Regions from separate parts of the Homo sapiens genome. Here all the other regions are linked to region 7. The links are contacts of gene promoters, found by promoter capture Hi-C in blood cells and fetal thymus (Javierre and others, 2016). All regions are on one chromosome and are shown on one strand. The core of a region is centred on a gene start or on the middle of the fragment in contact, and the rest is flanking DNA. Distances in the headings are between cores, read along the strand shown. Region 1 has its middle 12 kb from the start of CCSER2. Region 2 has its middle 8.2 kb from the start of GHITM. Region 3 overlaps GHITM (growth hormone inducible transmembrane protein). Region 4 overlaps CCSER2 (coiled-coil serine rich protein 2). Region 5 overlaps LINC00858 (long intergenic non-protein coding RNA 858). Region 6 has its middle 12 kb from the start of LINC00858. Region 7 holds the start of WAPL (WAPL cohesin release factor).

Region 1 (3,125 bases), core at 1-2,500, 2.2 Mb after region 7:
CATATATTAATGAAACACTTTGCATTCTCAAATTTCAATTTGACATTGAAACACTGCATTCTTAAAATCAACCCCACTTGATCACAATGCATCATTTAATCTGCTGCCAGGGTCTATTTTAAGTTTTCTGCATTGAAATTCTTAAGGGAGAATTGTCTGTGGTTTTCTTTTATTGGAATAAAAATCTTTGAAATTTATTCCAAACAAATCTGAAATATATAGGAATAAAAACAATGCAATCTTTGTCAGGTTGGGGGATTAATAGTATAATTAATAGAGACTCTTGTCTCTACAAAAAATACGCTTCCTAAAATGAAATGTCCTGAAATAGTTTAAGTAACAATGGAATTAGCTGATCCTTAAAGATTACGTAGTCCTTTGTGATATCATTTGGCTTAGTGTTTCTTTGTTTTTATGAAAGAACTATTCAGCCTTTTCATTTCCTCCTCAGAAATTAGTTTTAGACTTTCTGTTTCTACTGGTTTCAATTTTAGTAAGTTGTATTTGTCTAAAAAATACCCATTTCTTCCAGATTTTCATACTTATTTGCACAGAGTTGAACAAAGTACTTTCTTCTTAAATTGCTTTCTATTTTTTATGCTATTATTTCTATATTTTTGTATTTGTGTTTTCTCTTCTTTAAAGCTTAAATTAGATAAGAGTTTGTGTATTTTTTGTGTTTTTCAAATATCTAGCTTTTAAATTTATTATTTTTACTCTTCTGTTTTCCAAATCATTATTTATAATTTTATCTTTATTAATTCCTTTTTTGCTTCTCTTGGTTTTACTCTGCCATTTTGTTTTCTATTTCAGACATTAAATTTATTTATATTTATGCTTTCATTTTTATTGCGCCAGATACTTAAAGGCATAAATTTTCCTGTAATAACTGCTCTTTGGGAAAAATTCTCAAACCATGTTTTCCCTCTGCTTTCACACCAACACAGCAATCGACACAGAAAATGTCTGTGACCAAATGTGTGAAGTTTTTTCCCCACCAACAAGCAGTGGACACCAGCTGCATATTCTCCAATTCCATTCTGATACTATCTACTTGGAGACAGCATCAGATCCCACAGGTTGAGGGCTCTCAGTCCCTTAAGCTAGTCTCCCTCCCTTTAGACACCCAGTGGCAAGTCCGAGACTCTGGAACTTCTGACTGATCGGCTTCAAGTTGAGGTTCCCAGCTGGGGATGGTGGCTCATGTCTGTAATCCCAACACTTTGGGAGCAGGAGGATCACCTGACGACAGGAGTTTGCCATCAGCCTGGGTAACACATTGAGATCCCATCTCTATTAAATAAAAATGTTGGGGTTACATGACCCTCTTTGGATTTGATTAATTTGCTGCAGTGGCTCTTAGAACTCAAGGAAACACTTATATTTAATGGTTTATTTTATTTTATTTATTTTTTTCTGAGATGGAGTCTTGCTCTGTTGCCCAGGCTGGAGTGCAATGGCATGATCTCAACTCACTGCAAACTCCACCTCACAGGTTTAAGCAATTCTCCTGCCTCAGCCTCCAGAGTAGCTGGGATTACAGGCCTGGCCACCATGCCAAGCTAATTTTTGTATTTTTAGTAGAGACGGGGTTTCGCCATATTGGTCAGGCTGGTCTTGAACTCCTGACCTCATGATCCACCCGCCTCGGCCTCCCAAAGTGCTGAGATTACAGGTGTGAGCCACCACGCCCGGCCTAATGGTTTATTTTAAAGGATGTAACAAAGGATACCGATGAAAAGATGCATAGGCAGAGGTAGGGGGGAAGGGGTGTGCCACTCCTCAGAAACTTCCATGTATTCAGCTACCTGGAACCTCTCTGAACTCAGGCATCTTGGCTTTTCATGGAAGCTTCGGGACCTCAGCATTCTTCCCCCAGGGAATGGAGTGGAACCCTCTCTGGAATAAGGGTTTTAGGACTCACAGTCAGAAACGAGGAAAGATTAGAGTCCTGCCTTTGGGCAGGTGAAAGAAGGGGAGGAGAAGGTCAGAGAGATTCTGTTTCCTGAGACTTAACACACCCAACATTGTAACAGAAGACTAACAAAAGTTATGGGAGTTATGCGCCAGGAACTGTGGACAAAGAACAATATACATATCATAACAACAAACACAGCTACTTTAGCATTATTACAGAGATTATATGTCTTGGTTTTATTATTATTTTCAAGAAATTCAATAATTTTATTTTTTCATTTTCCAAGGAGCTGCTTAAAGGAGTATTTTTAAATTACCAGGAAAAAGGAATTTTCAGATTAAAAAAATCTGTCATTAATTTCTAGTTTTATTGCATTATGATCAGATAATGCAATTTTTAATTTCTTTTCTTTTCTTTTTTTTTTTTTTTTTTTTTTTGAGACGGAGTCTCACTCTGTCGCCCAGGCTGGAGTGCAGTGGCGCGATCTCGGCTCACTGGAAGCTCCGCCTCCCGGGTTCACGCCATTCTCCTGCCTCAGCCTCCTGAGCAGCTGGGACTACAGGCGCCCGCCACCACACCTGGCTGATTTTTTATATTTTTTAGTAGAGACGGGGTTTCACCATGTTAGCCAGGATGGTCTCGATTTCCTGACTTAGTGATCCACCCGCCTCAGCCTCCCAAAGTGCTGGGATTACAGGCATGAGCCACCATGTCCGGCCACAATTTTTAATTTCTATTCTTTGGAATTTCTTGAGATTTTCTTGGTGGCCTAATATTTGGTCAATTTTCATGAATGTTTTATGTTCATTTGAAAAAGAAGGTAATTTCTCTTTTATACATATACAGAATTCAATATTGTTTGGTAGGATCTGTTATTTTGCCCTCCCCATTTAACAACAAATAAGAAACCAAAATTGCAAGACACTAGAGGACAACCTCTAACATGGAAAATAGAGACCCAGGCAAATAAACCTGAAAGGATCTGGAAACTCCAAGAGGAAGAAAACTAGCCCCCTTATGCTTCATTCCTAAAAACTATAAGTGATACATCCAGAGAAATAAGAAAAAATATTGCATCCATGAAACAAGAATAAATGTCATAAAAAACACAAAAGAGTCCTTCAAAATGAAAAAGATATAGCAGTGATGAAAACTCAATAGAACGGCTAGAAAATAAAGTTGAGGATATCTGCAAATGGGAGCAAAC
Region 2 (2,862 bases), core at 216-2,715, 2.4 Mb after region 7:
CCAGTTGGCCAATCTTGTAGCCACTGTCCAAGAGTCAGTGTAGACCTGTATTTTAGTCCCTATCTCCTTTAGTGCAAATTGAACTTTCAAATGGTCTTTTCTCCTAAGCTCTTTCTTCCCCACTGGGAAGACTTATTTTCATCACTGTCTTTCAAGGCTGTCCCTGAGTTAGGGCTGTAATATAGCAACATGCAGACCCAACTATAGGTTAGGCCCATGCTTATGCTCTTAGGTTAACTGGTAATAGAAAAAGGTCCATGAAATCATAGATTTGGGTTGAGAAAAAGGTGGCAAAGCAGGAACAAAAGATACCATGAGAGTCTCAGGCATTTACCCAAGCAGTTATTTGCGTCCTCAAAACCTGCTTGAGACTGTTCCTGTAAATACTGTTTCCGTTAACAAAGGAATAATGTTGAGAATGTCCAATCTTATTGATTTGGAGGATCAGGCAACACCCAGTTTATGATCCTGGGTCCTGAAGTCACTTGGTTTTCCTTGGCCATGTACTCATGACCTCTGCTGCCTTACCAAACAGGTGCCACCTTTTTGCCTTGGCAACTAGATGCCACAATTATCTCCCAATTAATTTCTCTGGACCTACACTTCATCCCTTGTCACTACCAGTAACAATTTGGGTAATTATGATGGCACCACATGTCTGCAAAAGAGGTGATCTGTCCTCTAATCAAATGTGTGAGCAATTTTAGAATCCTATTTTGAAGGTTTTTCTCCTGGGTACCACTTATTTTATTAGCATCTGGTAGGAAACAGATGGTACATCAAAAAGAGGCGATTGAAGAATGTCTAACACAATCACTATTGACAAATGTGTATGCTGGGATAACAGAAACAGAACGGATAGTAAAGCACCCTGGAATTAGCAGCAGTGGGAAGCCGTTACCATGTTGGTCCTAGAGGAACAATGGGTGGGAACAGTTAGTGGATCCTGGCAGGGATTGGAGGTATAGGAGAAGGATCACCAAACAGGTGCCATAGCCACCATTCAACCATGGCATGGCAGGATGGGAACCAAAGGGATAAATATCTCAACCTCTCACCCTCTAATTTCCTCCTGATGGCTGAACCCAACTCTAACACAGAAGGAGCTAGGACAATACAGTTCCCAGGGGTCAGCCTCCCAGGGACCAGGGTAGGGTAGAGGAGTAGATCTCAAGTTTCTCATCTGTTGTGGACTGAATTGTGTCCCCCAGACAACTCATATATTGAAACCTTAACCCCCAATGTGACTGAATTTGGAGATGGGGTCTCCAAGGATAGAATTAAGGTTAAAGGAGATCATAAGGTTGGGGGTTGATCCAATAGAACTGGTGTCCTTATCAGAAGATGAAGAGAAACCAGAGATCTCTCTCTGTCTCTGCCATGTGAAGACACAGTGAGAAGTTGGCCTTCTATAAGACAGGAAAAGACCTTTCACCAGGAACCAACCTGGCTGGCACCTTGATCTTGGACTTCTAGCTTCCCAAACTGTGAGAAAAATAAATGTATATTGTTTAAATCACCCAGTCTGTGGTATTTTGTTACAGCGGCCTGAGCAGACTAATGCATCATCTATAAGATGAAGACTGTAACATGTGTCTCATGAGATTCCTATGATGATTACATGAAATAACATGGATTAGATTTCTAAATACAGTACGTGCATGATAATTGCTAATATTTATTACTTTTATTATTGGTATTCAGAGTTAAACAACCAGAGTCTCATTTCATGATTTTTAGTTACCCCTCTCTCTGTTTTTTCTTTTTATAAATTCAATTATCTTTCTTGAGGTGAATAAAATAGATCTTTATACATTATAGATACTATGTGGTCTAGGATACCTTCTTATATTCTATTTGTAGTCTGCTTTTGTTAATGTCTCACTTTTTCCACCCTCTATCATATTGAATTAGTGTCTCATTTCAGTAGTTTATAATGTCTTCCTTACTGGTTTATAACAGATGGTTCTGAGCTCATTACTCTGTAAATATAGATTATATATTTATTTTCAGAGTGAATTATTTGGTATCAGTCCCTGTTGAAGTTCACCTGCCATGTTTGAAAATGTTCTTGTCAAATAGCAGCCCCAACACTATTTTCATTTTTAACTTCTATGTTTTACATCTTGCCTTGCTTATCTTTTTAGTACATAAATGCTTATGGGTGGAAAGCACTCATTTTATATTACCTTATATGTCGGTTTTAAGTGTCAAGCACACTGATAATTTAAAAAAAATGAAAATCTTTTTAGTTAAAAAATTTCATATATTTTAGCACTAGACTTCTTTAGATTTACTGGAATGGTGGGTGTGCTTGTAATAAAGCACTGTCATCTGGACATTTCAGTTCTGAGCCACATGATCAGAGATGCACAAGTGTGGGAACTGCATGGATCTTTTTTTTTTTTTTTTTTTTTTTTTTTTTTGAAACAGAGTCTGGCTCTGTAGCCCAAGCTGGAGTGCAGTGGTACGATGTTGGCTCACTGCAACCTCTGCCTCCTGGGTTCAAGTGATTCTCCTGCCTCAGCCTTCTGAGTAGGTGGGACTGCAGGTGCCTGCCACCATGACTGGCTAATTTTTATATTTTTGGTAGAGATGAGGTTTCACCATGTTGGCCAGGCTGGTCTTGAACTCCTGACCTCAGGTGATCCACCCACCTTGGGCTCCCAAAGTGCTGGGATTACAGGCGTGAGCCACCACGCCCAGCCTGCAAGTATCTTTAAAAGATGGATAGTAGTAGCTGCGTGCAGTGACTCATGCCCTTAACCCTAGATAGTCAGGAGGCTGAGGCAGGAGGATTGCTTGAGGCCAGGAGTTCAAGGCCAGTCTGGGCAACATAATGAGACCCCATCTCTACAAAAA
Region 3 (3,222 bases), core at 423-2,922, 2.4 Mb after region 7:
CTTATCTTCTAAACTTCAACGAAAGCTGCTTGTACAAACTATTTAATGCATATCTGCCCCATTAAACAAGATATTTGATGTAGCAGAGAAGCCAGAAGCTGAGTCACTTCATTTCTTTCTGTTGCCTCCAGTTGCCAGCATAGTTGCAACTCGCATAAATATATTTAATGTATCCATGTAGATACTCAGCATCCTAGAAAAGAAAATTATGCCCATTATATATGATGCAATTCTAATAGTGATGTTGAATTCTTAATATAGAAAAGAAGAAAAATACTATTTGTCTTAGTGATATAAAATGGAAATTAAAAATAAGATGTTTAACTGCCAACTAATGAAGTACTAGACTAGAAAATAGTTAAGGTCTTCCTTTTGGCAGACTCATCTTTTAAATGTTAAAGAGCAGTTTAAAAAAATCATTATTTTATTCTCTGACACTCTGCATATATCAACTTGCAAAGAAAACTAGGTGGCAGACAATGAAATAATCAAAACAAGACCAAAGAAACACCTTTATAAAAACCTGTTAGACACAAGTCTAGCATTTTTTAATATAAAAGACCCACTTCACCCCTCTAAAGAAAACTTCTACAAATCTGTAAGCTTTACAGTACAGCAACTTTTTCTTCCCCCTAAACCATTACATTAAGTTTTATTTTTAGATAAAATCAAATTACTTTAAAAAAATGTGACAGACACAATGAAACTCAAGAAAATTGTTTAAATAAAATAACCCACTTTGGTCGACTCCAAGAAAAAAGAAAAAAACATAATAACAATTAATACCAACTAAAGTTGCATATCTCTGAAACTAGACTCTTTATACTGAAGAGTTTCTAATTTCTAGAAGTATAAAATAGGCTTTTCTATTAAAAATTCCATGTCAATTATATACATTTTCCAATAAATAATACTTGATTAATACATTTCTTCAGTTTTAAAGTCTGCAAAATACACTACCAAAAAAATTAACTGAGCAGTAAGAGCACATTATTTATTGCACCCTGACACTGGCTCACAAAAATAGACAAAATATTCTGATAATGGAATGAATACCTAAGTATTACACTAAGTTGCAATAAAATCAAGAGGTTTTTTTGGATAGTTTACTAAAGAGAGAACAGACAAAACTGCAACAGAAGTAAAACAGGAAATCTGACAAAGCCATTGGTGTGGTTTGAGCTGTGACCCTCCTCTGCCCCCCAACAAAATATAATGAAATCCTAATCCCTGGTACACAGGAAGAGCACCATGTGAAGATGGAGACAGAGACTGGAATGATCCATCTACAAGCCAAGGAATGTCAAGGACTGCCAGCAGTAACAAGAAGCTGAGAGGCAGGGAACAGATTTTCCCTCAGGGCCCTCAGAAGTACAACTCTGCTAACACCTTGATTTTAGATTTCTGGCCTCCAGAACTACAAGAGAATCAAGTTTTGTTTTAAGCCACCCAGTCTGCGATACTTTGTTAACAGTATCCCTAGAAAACTAATACAGCCATAAACCAAAACAGGTCAAATACACACAAGCATCCTTATGTGACAGAGTAACAGTGTTAAATAAAAAGCATTACTTACGAGTTAATGGGATCATATTTTTGAACTCCATACATTGGTGATACTTCTGCACGCTTGATTACTTTCTGGGTATCATACAGAAGGAACATGCTGAAAAGAACTAATCCACCGTACATTGCCACTGAGTAAAGAGTGGCACCAGCCACGGTGGTAGGTGGAAGAAACATAGATCCTGAAATCAAAATGCGAAAACAAGATTTTTTTTAAAAAAGGATTTCCGATAACTGAGTTTATGATTTATATTACTTAAAAAAAAATCTCCTTGGTATACTGTGTAGGTAAGACGACATCTGGGTACATGTACTGTCTAATCTTATTTGCATTAGTTCAAAATCCATGATACTCATTCCTCCAATGAGCCACTTGCCCATTTCACAGGAAGGTTCTTGCATCAGAGCAATATTCATGTTCTCCAGACCAACTTTCCCATTTTAGATGTGTTTGGTAAAGCCAGTAATAATGGTTGACCATGTTGCCATGATTTTTATATGATGTCAGGTAGTAAAATCCAGTCAAATTAGCATAAATCTTTAAAAAAACTTTTAAAATAAATGACTCAATCAATTAGGATATTGGAGTATTTCAGGTTACAGGAAACTATGCACCAAGAATTAAGTGTTAAAACACAGCAGCTTACCCAATGAGGACACAAAGACGAGACCCAGGCCCACTCCCAGGGGTGCACCCATGTTCAGAAACTTTTCACTGGGCGCACACATGGCCACAGTGGAGAGGCCTCCCACAATGCCAGCTGTGTACCATGCAGCTCTGATGAGAAGAGGACCCCCTAATATTGTCAGAGGAGCCACCACTGCACCCATCACACCTGGAGAAAGAGGAAGTGCTCATTAAGTATTTACTAAATAACAAGCAAAAGGAAAATATCACTTCTAACATGCCACTTTATATTATACCTTACTGTTTAAGCACTATGATTCAAAAAGTTCTGCCTTTAGATAATACTACCCCCACCAAATTCTACAGCCCAAATTGGTGACTACTCAAATTCTATATCACAACATTAACACTATTCCTAATCAATCACACTCACAAGCAAACACTAATCTACTTATTTAGTAACCATCAAATTCCATGTAGCTATTTGAATCTGAGCTTACCACTAGTTTCTACAACATTCATATAATAATTGAGATAAACAAGCTTAAAACAAATAACTCAAGGTCAAACCTACTGCTGTCAAAAGGGAAAGCATATGATGATAAACTTAAAATGTGGGAACTTCTAAGACAGACACTGCTGTTTCTTTATGTAATAAGGACTGCTAACAGCTTATAAATAAGTAATTTTAGTTGTCAGATATTTATAAACAATTTCGTAAAAAATTTACCAGTAATTCAACAAAGGTAAATGGAACTCCTTAATTGAAAAAAAACTTAGATAATGCATTATTTCAGTGCTAAGAAGAATAAGTTACCTTTTTCTTAAATGTCGTTTACCTCATAGACTAGGCACAAAGCTATCTTTATACTGAATTTTCAATACTAGCTTAAAGAATAACATTTCTAGATCAAGTTATATGGTTAATAAGGTATACTATCTCATGATGATGAATAATTTAAAAATACTTTTTGCTCTAGGCAAAACAGTGGGTGAAATTTCTACACAGAACACTTCTATTAGGACTC
Region 4 (2,935 bases), core at 384-2,883, 2.2 Mb after region 7:
GATGACATATTACACATATACTTATTTTCTGTATCTTGTCATTAGAATGTAAGCTCCACAAAGGCAGAAAATTTGTTTTGTTGACTGAACTATTCCTAGCAAGTGCTCGGAATACATTTCTTGAATGAATGAATGAGAAAAATCCAGACTGAGAATCTATTCTCTAAGCCAGGATTGAAGGAATTTAGAATGTAAAACATCTCAAGTCCTGGAAAAACATGACTGCAAGAAAGGCCACAACAATGGCCAAGTCTACATCTCTAGCTAGTACCAATAATAAATAAAGGTTGACAAGCCATACCATACTACTCCTAAAATGAGGAAAATATACCTGAGAAAAAATTTTAAATAAGGAAAAGAAACAAAACAAAACAGAAAGATGGCCATCCCTGCCTCCCCACCCCGAAAAGAAATATCACCTGGATGTTTCCTATAAAGTGGCCTACCAACTCTGACCAAAATATCATCAAGTCCATTCTACAGACTTAAATAGCTATTATGAATAGTCCCTGTTTTTCTAAGCTAAGATCTTCAGAGAAAATTATTATATAACTCCCAACCCTAACACTGGCTGCCAAGAGATAATGGTCAGAGAAAGCTCTCAAATTGCCCTAAAGCACTCAGGCTGCAACGAAATATCATTAATATGATGACAACAACAATTCAAAGTACCTTCTGGTATCTGTCTTGCTTCTTTGTCCCTAGCGTATTCACTAGGGCCTTCGTCATCAAAGGTTTTGCAATCTTGACATGGGGGCAGTGTTGGGGAGGAGGGTAGGCAACTCAAAAAAACAGGACTGGAATTTAATTTTGCATTTTAAAGAAAAGCAGGGCCAGTTGTGGTGGCTCACACCTGTAATCCCAGCACTTTGGGAGGTAAAAGCAGGAGGGTCATTTGAGCCCAGGAGTTTCAGCCCAGCCTGGGTAACATGGGGAGACCCTGTCTCTATGGAAAATTTTTAAAATTAGCCAGGCATGGTGGTACATGCCTGTAGTCCCAGCTACAGGTTGAGTACAGGTTGGGAAGCCAAGGCAGGAGGATAGCTAGAGCCCAGGAGGTCAAGGCTGCAGTGAGCCATGATGACACCACTGCACTCCAGCCTGGGTCCAGAGACCCTGTCTCAAAAAAAAAAAAAAAAAAAAAAAGAGAGAGAGAGAAGTAGAATGCTGGGGAACAGAAAACACTTGCTCAGATACAAGATGTCACTGGGCTTTTCAATACCAGGCACCAAAAGAGAGATCACAGAAGGACCAAAACCCTGAGATGCCCATCGTTCCTCAGCTAAAGAGCCATGCCTTGCATTTCTATTCTCACACACAGAACTCAAGATACAGGGTAGGAGACCATGCCAAAGTGAACAGCTGGGAGCAGCGATGGCAGGGAGGAGAGCAGTAACAACTACCATAACAAAGGGAAGGAAGGAGTAATCCCTCATGCTTTTTCTCTTTTCCCTTTCCCACTGTCCTTATCAAGGACAGAAACAGGGTAGATGAAAACAGGAGAAGGCAGAGAACAGAGGGTAAGGATGGCCTGAAGCAAATGGTTGTAGAAAAAAATCAATAGCAAATTCCTTTACCAAGTAACTCTTTGAAAAACAGACATATGAAGTAAGTTAGGAGCTGACCAAGAAAATTTAAAACAAGCCCCTGTCTTACGTAGCTATAAAGTACAAAGAAAACAGAGATTCTTAATTATTTGGAATAATCTGTGGCATTTTTAAGACCAACAGTCTTCAAAGATGATCCAACTATACTGAAACTAAGCTACTGATCAACTTGAAAAAATAAACAGGTAAAAAACTTCAGTGCTCATGGATCCAACCTTTAAGAATCCTCTGGCTTCCCAATGGCTCCAAACCTTAATATAATCAACCAGAAGTCTTTAAAGGTAGAGAAGTAACTCTAGGACATTCCAAACCAATCAACTCATCAGAGAAGAGCTAAAAACTCAGAAATTACATCTCACATACTATGATTGGTCAATTCACTTAAAAAGAAAGGACTGTTCTCATTGGTTGATCTCAATAGGCTGAATCACACCCCAGCATCAGCACCTGTAGCAAGCAGAAGTCAGAAGCCAAAGAGGCAGAAAGCCATCAGATACTCAGAGAAAACTTAAGTAGTCAATAACAACGGAAAGACAAGTTCACCCTATACAACCACAATCAGCTTATGACAGCAGGGCACACCAACCACAACTGTTTGTAGCCTGAGGTGGCAGCATTCTACATGCTCATGTCTGTGCTAATACTTCCCTACCCCTCTGCCTCCTCCCTGATGGCTCTTCCCCCATCCTCCCTGACAGCTGTCACATTCTAGAGCTACTCTTCCTCCACCCACTCTTTCATTTTGGTAATTTGGTGTTTCCCAGTTCAGTCTCTTGACCTTTCTGTATTATTTCATCCTATATTCACTCATTCCTCTACTCAGTCCCTATCTTTGACAAGCACACAATCCAGTGGGGGAGACAGATATGTTACTAGAATAGGTACAATACATCACAGTCAACGCTGTGAAAGAAATATAACAAAGTGCTGTGAGCACATATTCATCTGTCATTACCCCACTCAATGTCTTCCAAATCAATACACTGCCTTCCCACTCTGTTGTGTATCAGTTACTAATTCCTATATATTTCCAAAATATCCCGATCTCCACTTCCACCTCAAGGTTTAGCCTTCATTTCTCACATGAATATTTCAACCACTTCCTATTATAAACATAATTCAATATATAGCCACATTGTCACATGAGCAATCTCCCTAAAAGAGATAACATACCATATCATCCCCTTGCTTTGCAACACCTAATCTTTCCAATGTCTAAGAAATGAAGTCCAAATCCTTGGCATGGATAATAAGATAATACTTTTGAAATAGCATCTTTTAAAAGCAGGCTGACTGAGTTCCAGTTCCAATGCTTACTACCTATGTTA
Region 5 (3,332 bases), core at 569-3,068, 2.2 Mb after region 7:
ACTGGAGTCGGATCTATGTGGACACATCTGCCACTGGTGTGCTGGGAGCAGAGGCCTCCTTTGTGAGGATGGGCACCCCAGAATGTCAGAGATGGTTAGTCACAGCTGTTTCCCTAGCACCAGCAGTAGGCACTCAAAATATGTTTTTAAAACACATTAGTGAGTGAATGACGGGGGAGGAATTCCTGTAGGTTGAGCCTGATCCAGTCAGGAACTTGGTTGGCACCAGGGAGGCAGCCAGACTAGGCGTCCCTCAGCTTTGTCTCTCAGCCCAGCCTTTAATGTCCTGGGAGAACAGGATGTTGTAAGTAAAGACGGAAAGGCCGTCATTATAACAACAAACAATCTTGCTTTAGAGCTGCACGAAGAAAATGCATCACAGAAGGCAGGGAAAGTATATTCACTGCCCTGCTTCTCTGTAGGCCACCCACATTCTTTGGCAAAGGGGACTTCTCTGTGAAACAGAGATGAAGCCCATTCCCTGGAACTAAGGTGCTTGGTGAAGCAACAGTAGCAGCCAGCAGCTTAAACCTGGTTTTAAGCACGCTGGAGGCGGCTTCGACTTTGTTTTCACCATGTAGGCTACTGTTACAAAACTTCATTAGAGAACAAGACACGCTTAAATTTTTCTACTTGTGGGGAGGGTAGTGGCAGTTTCTGTTTGTGTTTCCTCCCACCCCCACTTGGTCAAGCCTAAAGCTTATTCTTGAGCATCAGGAAGCAGAAGCACAATGGGAAGTGGGACTTTCCACTACAATCATCCTTGAGTATGAGGTCTGGGGGCTAATCCTTTCTTGTTCACATGTACAGATTAACAATGCAATGCCCATATGGGTGTTCACAGCATTTTTGCCAAACCCCCAGGCTCTCTGGGACAGAGACCTTACTATTTGGTTCAGGTGACTACTTTCTTCACTCCTCGGTGATGTACCTGCATGAAATGTCCCCAGTCATCATTGCTCGGCAGTCAGAAACTGAGGAAGGTGGATGTTCTCAGTCCAGTGGGTCTCTGGACATCAGTTGTCCACTTGAGGTACAGGAACAAATCTCTTTTTTTGTTTGTTTGTTTTAATTTTTTTGTTTTTTGTTTTTTGTTGCTCTTGTTGCCCAGGCTGGAGTGCAGAGACACAATCTTGGCTCACTGCAACCCCCGCCTCCCAGGTTCAAGCGATTCTCCTGCCTCAGCCTCCTGAGTAGCTGGGATTAGAGTTGCCCGCCACCACACCTGGCTAATTTTTGTATTATTAGTAGAGATGGGGGTTTGCCATGTTGGCCAGGCTGGTCTCGAACTTCTGAGCTGGTGATCCACCCACCTTGGCCTCCCAAAGTTCTAGGATTACAGGTATGAGCCACCACACCCGGCCCAGGAACAAATCTTTCTTACTTCATTTTTATCTCTAGGTTATGGAAAGGGGTGATGGGGGTGGGGGAGGATCCTCTGCATTGTCTTCCCTAAAAAATAGGATCAACTGGGGAGACTTGTGAGCATCCCTTGGAAGCAAAGATGGACTGAACATACCTGTCTAGGTGTCCACATACTCTCTTCAGACCCTGTGAAGGCTAATTTTTCTTGTCAACTTGGCTAGGCGATTGGGGCCAGTTGTTTGGTCAACTAGTCTGGATGTTGTTAGGAAGGCATTTTGTAGATGTGATTAACATTTACAATTGGCAGACTTTAAGTAAAGCAGATTACCCTCCATGATGTGGGTGGGCCTCATCCAATCAGATGAAGGCCTTAGGAGCAAAAGCTGAGGTGTCAGGGGAAGAAGGCATTCTGCCTCAAAACTGACATAGAAATCCTGTCTAGATTTCCAGCCCACTGGTCTGCCCTGCAGACTTTGGGCCCAAGATTACAATTTCAACTCTTGTCTGAATTTCTATCCAAAGGGCCTGCCCTAGATTTCAGACTTGCCAGCATCCACAATTGCATGACTCAATCCCTTAAAATAAATCTCAATCTTTCTCTTTCTTATTGTTTCTGTTTCTCTGAAGAACCCTGACTGAAACTGACAAAGCCTCTCTCATTGACCACACTCTGAGCCCTCTTCTCAACTAGGCCTCCTCCATGGCCTGCTGAGCCCAGTTTTAGCAAAAATTCTGCTGAGGCAGTTTATTGGGAATCCCCCCTGCCCTTGATATCTAATCAGGTCTCTCTCCCCTATCCCAAGTTCCCCATAGTAATTCTCTGTCCTCTGCCTCACTGGGCCCACTGGCTCTAAAGCCCCACTTGTCCCTGTTTGTATTTGAAGTTGAGTTCCATCTCTCTCCCTGTCCCCTTCTGTTTGGGCTGCTATAACAAAATATCATCAACCAGAAGGCTTATAAACAACAGAAATTTATCTCTCACAGTTCAGAAGGCTCAGAAGTCCATGGTCAGGACATCAGCAGATTCAGTGTCTGGTAAGGGCCAATTTTCTGGTTCGTGGATGATGCTTCCTGGCTGTGTCCTCATATGATGGAAAAGGTGAGGGGTCTCTCCCAATGCCTCTTTTAGAAGGGCACTGATCTCGTTCATGAGGGCTCTGGCCTATGACATAATCATCCCTTAAAGTGCCCACCTCCTAATTCCTTCATCTTGGAAGTGAAGTTTCAACTTATGAATTTGAGGGAGACACAAACATTGAGACCATAGCACTTACCTATTGCAATGCTCTTAAATAAACTGTCTTGCCATTTTTAACAAGTGTTTGGTGAATAATTTCTCTTTAATAATACAGACCCTATACCTAATGCCAGTAACTATAAGGACTTTATAATACTCCAGAGTCAGACTCAATTTCTCATCTGGCTGCTGCCTCCTGTGTTCCCACAGCAATCTGAAGTACTGAAGTCAAAAACAGCACATGGGCCTTGCAGCATCTGGGGTGCAGCAAGCAGGGTGAAGGGGGAGACTGCCTTAGAATGGAGGGTGGCAGCTCCAAGGAATGGGAAAGCTTCTCAATCCCTTTGGTCTAAGTGGGAAAACAAAAGAGCTGGCAGCAATCTGGGGTGAGTTAGGGCCCAGGAGCTAAAAAGCAGGCCGGTTTCATGATAACGAGCTTCTTTTTTGTGTAGGATGACTGTAGCAAGTTTATCTGCAAGACCCACAGGGACCTCAGCAATGACACATTGTGGGATAGATTGGGAAGCCAGATTAGGTAATCACAGAGCTGGAGCACCTCTCTAAGAACCAGCTGGGGCTCTGCAGGGGTGTGACAAGTGCTCATCCGGATGAGGGACTCACAGAGACAACTGGCACATTAAACAGATTGCACTGTCATCTTCCTGACAGCACGCCCACAAAGGACCATGCTCAGCTGTCATCTTCAAGTGTGGGAGCAGCTTCCCTCCAA
Region 6 (3,024 bases), core at 32-2,531, 2.3 Mb after region 7:
CTGAGTATCTAAGAGGCATCTGTATTTATTCTCCCCCAAGCCTGGTTTGTCTTCCTCATCTTGGTATATGGCACCTCCAAAACCCTAGGTACCATCCTTATGTACTCCCATGTCCTCGATTCTCACCTCATTTACAAATGGAAATGGAAATTTTCTCTACAGCATCCATTCTGCCCTCTCCCACTACTCAGCAACTATGTCATTTGTGTAGGTCTGACTACACCCGTACCTTTATTGGTACAAGCAAATTAAAATAATTTCACCCTCTTACCTATGGTGATGGTTTCCAATAAATCCCATCTAAGCTAAGCTAATCAGTCCATTGGCAGCTGGGGATTAATGGGAGTATTAAGCCAACTATCATTTTAATTCTCCTGGAAACAGGGATTTGTTTAGAAGTGGTCGAATCAAGCCCCAACTCAAGATTTTTATTTTATGGTTATTGGGAATGATGCTTGCTTCCTCCTATATGTGAACAGAACTAACTCACAATCATGTACGTATATTGTTCTAGGAGCCATCTTGGAGTTATTAATAAAGTTAGCGTAAGAATAAATGGACACATAGAGAGTGGGAGAGAGAAAGGGCAGACCTGAGAATCACAGAAAAATAAACCTGGAGACCTGATCAAACCTTGCATGAAGCTTCCACTCTTCCACTTTTCATTTGTGGGAATCTGTAAGTTGCACTTATTTTTCAGACTGTTAATATTTACATTTTCTGTTACCTGAAATCAAAAGCACCCAAACTGATAAACTTACTTAAACCACTAGCAAGTCATGTAACATCTGTTTCTAAAACTGTGTAACAAATCTGTCCATATCTCACTGTTATCGTCACCACCACCTAGTTCAAGGCAGCAGCATCTTTGGTCTGGACTATTGTAACAATCCCTACTTCAATTTTCAGCCTCTACTGTTCAATGTAGCCCCCAAACAGCAGCCAGAGACATCAGTTAAAAATGGAAACCAGATCTGGTTACTTTCTTGATGAAAACCTTTCAAAGATTTTCATTTGCTCTTAAAATAAAACTCACTGTTCCCCTTCCCCATCCCAGCCAGCCCTACTGGATGGACATGTCCCCTGCGTCTCCCGTTGCTTCTCTTTGGGCTTTCTGCCCCAGCCTCATGCCTCTCCTCGAACAGCCACTCCCTTTCCCACTTGCTGTTCCCTCTGCCTGAAATATTTTCCTTTTGCCCTCACCTGACAGCCTTATTATTATCGTTTAAGTCACAGCTTGAATATCACCTCTTCAGAGAGGTCTTTCCCAACCACCTCTCCCAGCTTCCCTATCTGTTCCCTAGTTTATGTCCTCCAAAGTGCTTATCAAAATTTGTAACGATTTCTTTTATACATTTACTTGTTTATTGTCAGTACAATGTAAGCCCCTCATGAGGACCTTGTCTGTCTTGTTTAAACTTGACTTACAGTTAGGCTCAATAAATATTTGTTGAATTGTTGTTGAATGGTGAACACCCAACAGCTGTGCGGCAACAGGAAATGCCATAGGGAGGTGCACCAGAGCGCCACCCAGTGGCATCTTAGGCCTGGCATGGAGGTTTTCAGAGCTCAGTCCAATGACACAACTTGAAACATTGATCTGAATCATCTGGCAGGTGAGAGACAATGAACACCCAGTCAGAGGCTGGGAAGTGATGGAGGAGCAGCTAGGATCATAATCGGTTGCTTTGGCTGAACACACTGCAACTCAGTAACATCGGTTTACTTGGGAGTTTGTTAGAAATGCATCCTTGGTCCCTACCCAGGCCTACTGAACCAGAGTCTGCATTTAACAAGATCCCAGGTGATTTGTGTGCACCGAAGAGTTTGAGAAGTGCTGCTCTACAGCATCTTGGATGTGCATTGCCTGCACTGATATCCAAAAATCCCTGTGCCAGGAGGCACAAACCAAGCTTTCTCATTTACTGTATGACCTTCAGCAGTATTATTAACCTCTTATTCTTTAGTGCGCCCACTAAAAGCCCTGGCCCTATTATCTTGTGGATGATATCATGATAATAAAATAAAAAGCCTTGGGCTGAGGCTCTCCTGCTGGCCTATGGTCTTTGGAATTTGGGAGAATTAGTAAGAGAAAGATGAGAGCAAGCCATAGAACAAGAGCAAGTGAAGAAGAATGAACACCTAGAGAGAAATATATATTAATATAAAACAGCAAACAATGGCCTCAGAGATAACTCAGAGTAAATCTCAGTTAAATCACTCTTCATGAAACAGAACTGTTCATACCACTCCCCAAAAGTGGTGGTTCTCACTCATGGCTGCATATCAGAATCACCTGGGAGCTTAAAAAGCCCAAGCCAGCCAGCCCTTTAAACCTACCACATCAGAATCTCTGTGCCAGGGACCTAGACAGCTATAATCTGTAAGGCTCTCTGGGGCTTCTCAAGTTTTAAGGTGCACACAAACCAACTCTAGGGGTCGTTAAAATGAAGATTTGGATTAAGGAGTTCTGAGCTGGGCCCTGAGACTTGAGGGCCTGAGACATTTCTTTTTAAAAAATTTTTATTTTATGTATGTATGTATGTATGTATGTATGTATGTATGTATGTATGTGTGTATGTATGTATTTACAGAGACAAGGGCTCACTATGTTGCCCCGGCTGGTGTCCAGCTCTTGGACTCAAGTGATCCTTCCATCTCAGCCTCCCAAAGTGCTGGGATTACAGGCATGAGCCACCACGCCCAACCCTGAGACATTTCGAACAAGCTCCCAAATGAGGTTGGGGCTTCCAGTGCAGGGATAACACATTGAGTCACCAGGAACCAGGTGATTCAAATTTGCAAACGAAGTTGAGAACTGTGCTTGTGAGGATGTTGTGGGGATTAAATGAGGGAGTAGTTGGGACACTTGTGGTGTGTAATCGCCAGTCAATTATCACAATTCTCCTACACACCCTTTTCTTGAGTGACAGCAAAGAGTAGATGATGAAGTCCCTGATGGAACATATCTAATATCTATTGAGCACCTACCGGGTACCATGTGCTTTAAAGTATGCCACCCAA
Region 7 (3,064 bases), core at 175-2,674:
TTCAGTATTTAGGAAATTGTAAATGTCAGAATATAAATTCTGCAGTCAGGTAGGCAAAACAATCCAACCACACTAAAATCCACCTTAAATTCCTCTTGGGAAGAGCTGCAGGGTCTCTGAACTATTTTTCCTTTATTTGGAGTTTCCCCGATTATACCGGAGGGAGCTGGATAACTTCTGGGTGCATTAAAAGCAAATTATCCATTTGTGGGAGAAGGGCGGGCTTCTCACTGAAAGCAATTAGTAGTTTTCTAATTTCCCAGGTGGGTCTCCATTAACCGCCTAACAAACACCAAGGCTGTCGGAGTCCGACGAATCATGCACCTCTCTTAGGGGGAACTGGTTGCGCTACTCTTTAGAACGCTGTTTTCCCATGGTAGCCTTAAAAAAAACTTACCAATTTTCTGAATTAGGTAACACATTGAATGGGAAAAACCTAAGATAGCACAAAAAGGCGTACAGCGAAAAATTAAGACTCCTTCCTCCCGTCATCCGCCACCTCACTGTCCTCCCTAGAGGCAATCGCTGGTTCACTTCTTTAAACTTTTTATTATGGAAAATTTCAGATACACAAGTAAAGAGACTGTATGATGAGCACATATGCTCGCATCACGCAGCTTCAACGATGAAAAACGTTCTGCCAGCTTGTTTTATTCCTCTCCCCCAGTTTTCATAGGCGTATTTTACAGTCCTGACACCAGATCACTCTGTCAACACATCAGTAGGTCTTAAAAAAAAAAAAACAAAAAACCATAACCACATTACCGTTACCACACCCAACAAAGTTAATGATAATTGCTCAATACCATCCAATATTCTCGGGGCCACTTTCAATCGGTGAGGGGCAGACGGACTTAGAGGAAGGACTGCAGGGCTGGAGGGGCGCGAAAAAGCGAGGGGCGACGCTGCTCGTGGCCTCGGGTGTCCGGCGCCTCGCGGTCCCCGCCATCGTCACCTACGCCGGGCCAGGACCGACCAGGCCAGGTCGAGGGCGGCTCTTGACCACGCGCCCCCTGCCTCCCAGCTCCCGGGCGGCGGCCTCCGCAGGCCCGGCACAGCTGCACAGCCCGCGGTCCCCAGGCACCGGCGGGTCCCTGGAGGGGAAGCGATTGATACAGCTGCCTGCACTGCGCCACCCGCCCGGCTGCCCATCTCCGTGGCACCTGCGTCTCCCGGCTGGGCCGGGAGCTAGAAGTGGCTGCCGAGACCGGGAGGGCCCGGCCAGTCGCCCGCTCCCGCTCCCGCGCCTGGTCCTCGGCCCGCGACCTCGCGGACCTGGACTACAACTCCCGTCGGGCTCCGCGGCCGGGCCAATGGCGGGCGCCGGAGCATGCGGGGCGCAGCGCCTGCGCGGCGGTTTGAGTAAGCGGCTGCGCGATTGGCTGCGGGGTCGGGCGGCCGCGCGGGGACTGTGGGAAGCGGAGTGACGGAGCGAGCGGCTGTTGGAGGAAGGAGGTGGGGGCCGGGAGCGCAAATGGCGTTGAGATGGTTCAGGGCCCTGTTCAAACTCCAGCACTGACCATTCACCGGCGGAAGCGGCGGCGCAGGAGGCGGCGGCGGCCCAGCGGGGGCACACAGCAGGCTCTGTTACCAGCTCCAGCAGTGGCGGCCAGCGAGAGCTAGGCCTGGGCCCGGCCGGCGGCGCTCGAGGCGGGGAGGGAAGTTGCGGGGCCGCCGCTCCTGCCCCCCCAACCGGGCTTCCTATTTACCGAAAGCAGAGTCCCTCGCCTCTCTCGGCTCTCACCTGCCGGCCCTGCTCTCCCGCGCGAGGGTTCCGCGCCCGCCCGCGGGCCGTAGGGAGCGGGAGAGGCGGAGGCGGCCCGTGGCCAAAGCACCCGCCAGGCTCCGAGGGTAAGTGAGGTGTCGGGCGGCCGCCTAGGCCGGGAGGGAGCCGGGAGGGTGGGGGAGGCAGAGGCTGGGAGCGGGCGGTGGAAGTCTCACTGCCTCGCCCACCGGGCCGCTGAGGAAGTTGGGCAGGGGAATGACCTGAGGAACTCTTTTTTTCCCCTTTTATTTTCCTTTTTCGGAGTTCTTTTTCGGGCGACTGCTGATTGACTTAGCTCCCCAAACCCAGTCAAGTGTGTTGATTTCAGCCCCGAGTCCTTTCCCGTGGTTTCATCCGCCTCTGGCCGCCACTGGGGCCTTGCACTGCCTTAAGGATTCGGTGGCAGAGGCTTCCGGGGCGTCGAAAGTGACCTCCCTTTCCTGGGCGGCGCGGGTTGGGAGGAGAAAAGTTGCATTGAGTGTCTAGTCCGAGGGGTCCATCGCGCCCACTGCCCGTGGCGCCCCGGCTGTCCCCAGGTGAGGATTTCTGGTTAGTCAGGTTCGTCCCGTCCGCTTTCCATCTTTAATGGAAGCCCTTAAAGCCTTTGGGGATCGGGAAGACGCTAGATTAGGGTGGGAGTGAAGTATAAAGGCTTTTTGCTTTTTTTTTTTTTTTTTTTTTTTTAAATCACAGCGCACTTCTCTCAAAATTCGACCTGATTTTGGGCTAGGGCAAAAGCCGAACGACCGAAAAGACTTAGTCGTCAATCATTCTTTCCTTTTTAGTTAGGACAGTCTTTGGAGTTTAAAGGTTGAGCAAGATTGTGTACTTGAAACACTTAAAATTTAACTTCAAGGACGTCTGCACACTTATTTTGGAATCTGTAGTGCTTTACGCTTAGATAATGCCATTGCAAAGACATTTTATTGTGGGAAACGATAAAGGCAATCAGGAGGAGATATTATATAATGAACTTCTCTGTACCCATCGCTTGGATTTAGCAGTGACTATTAAACAAATTTATTTCATCTATACACTTCTCATTCCTTAATGTTGGAAAATCGCTGACGTTATTTCATCAGTATTTCACTATGTATTTGTAAAAGACGTGGTCTTTTGGCACAAAATTATTATTATCATTATTATTATTATTTTGAGACGGAGTTTCGCCCTTGTTGCCCAGGCTGGAGTGCAGTGGCGCGATCTCAGCTCACCGCAACCTCCGCCTCCCAGGTTCAATTGATTCTCCTGCCCCAGCCTCCGGAGTAGCTGGGATTACAGGCATGCGCCACCACGCCC

Evidence for each region. Contacts are between HindIII fragments. The CHiCAGO score rates a contact against its expected background, and 5 or more counts as called.
Region 1: a fragment that was not itself captured here is called in contact with the fragment with the promoter of WAPL in region 7 in 4 of 17 cell types (M0 macrophages, total CD4 T cells, fetal thymus and 1 more); the score reaches 7.0 in M0 macrophages.
Region 2: a contact is called between a fragment that was not itself captured here and the fragment with the promoter of WAPL in region 7, in 1 of 17 cell types (neutrophils). The highest score is 7.5, in neutrophils.
Region 3: a fragment that was not itself captured here is called in contact with the fragment with the promoter of WAPL in region 7 in 4 of 17 cell types (activated CD4 T cells, naive CD8 T cells, total B cells and 1 more); the score reaches 8.4 in activated CD4 T cells.
Region 4: a fragment that was not itself captured here is called in contact with the fragment with the promoter of WAPL in region 7 in 2 of 17 cell types (fetal thymus and naive CD8 T cells); the score reaches 6.0 in fetal thymus.
Region 5: a contact is called between a fragment that was not itself captured here and the fragment with the promoter of WAPL in region 7, in 1 of 17 cell types (M0 macrophages). The highest score is 8.8, in M0 macrophages.
Region 6: a contact is called between a fragment that was not itself captured here and the fragment with the promoter of WAPL in region 7, in 1 of 17 cell types (naive CD8 T cells). The highest score is 6.3, in naive CD8 T cells.

The regions. Positions count from the first base shown.
Region 1 is chr10:84,314,628-84,317,752 of GRCh38, reverse strand. No RefSeq gene overlaps it. Among named protein-coding and RNA genes, the nearest start is that of CCSER2, 12 kb to the left of the region's middle. RefSeq lists an enhancer at 2,839-3,125. The HindIII fragment of the contact is 1,206 bases long and covers 648-1,853 here.
Region 2 is chr10:84,129,902-84,132,763 of GRCh38, reverse strand. No RefSeq gene overlaps it. Among named protein-coding and RNA genes, the nearest start is that of GHITM, 8.2 kb to the left of the region's middle. The HindIII fragment of the contact is 6,346 bases long and covers 1-2,862 here.
Region 3 is chr10:84,149,235-84,152,456 of GRCh38, reverse strand. GHITM (growth hormone inducible transmembrane protein) reads right to left here. Exons shown (of 9, transcript NM_014394.3): 7 at 2,214-2,402; 8 at 1,577-1,748; 9 at 1-193. The coding sequence ends at 109. Among named protein-coding and RNA genes, the nearest start is that of GHITM, 11 kb to the right of the region's middle. The HindIII fragment of the contact is 2,134 bases long and covers 606-2,739 here.
Region 4 is chr10:84,333,440-84,336,374 of GRCh38, reverse strand. The region is part of intron 1 of CCSER2 (coiled-coil serine rich protein 2); the gene reads right to left. Among named protein-coding and RNA genes, the nearest start is that of CCSER2, 6.3 kb to the right of the region's middle. RefSeq lists an enhancer at 2,369-2,418. The HindIII fragment of the contact is 3,683 bases long and covers 1-2,935 here.
Region 5 is chr10:84,293,645-84,296,976 of GRCh38, reverse strand. LINC00858 (long intergenic non-protein coding RNA 858) reads right to left here. Exons shown (of 6, transcript NR_038220.1): 6 at 2,318-3,332. Among named protein-coding and RNA genes, the nearest start is that of LINC00858, 15 kb to the right of the region's middle. RefSeq lists an enhancer at 1,844-2,083. The HindIII fragment of the contact is 2,234 bases long and covers 702-2,935 here.
Region 6 is chr10:84,266,230-84,269,253 of GRCh38, reverse strand. No RefSeq gene overlaps it. Among named protein-coding and RNA genes, the nearest start is that of LINC00858, 12 kb to the left of the region's middle. RefSeq lists an enhancer at 1-38. The HindIII fragment of the contact is 1,269 bases long and covers 647-1,915 here.
Region 7 is chr10:86,520,152-86,523,215 of GRCh38, reverse strand. It overlaps WAPL (WAPL cohesin release factor), which reads left to right and starts at 1,424. Exons shown (of 19, transcript NM_015045.5): 1 at 1,424-1,851. WAPL-DT (WAPL divergent transcript) reads right to left here and starts at 1,269. Exons shown (of 2, transcript NR_186498.1): 1 at 807-1,269; 2 at 1-707. RefSeq lists silencers at 811-1,370, 1,511-1,930. The HindIII fragment of the contact is 16,574 bases long and covers 1-3,064 here.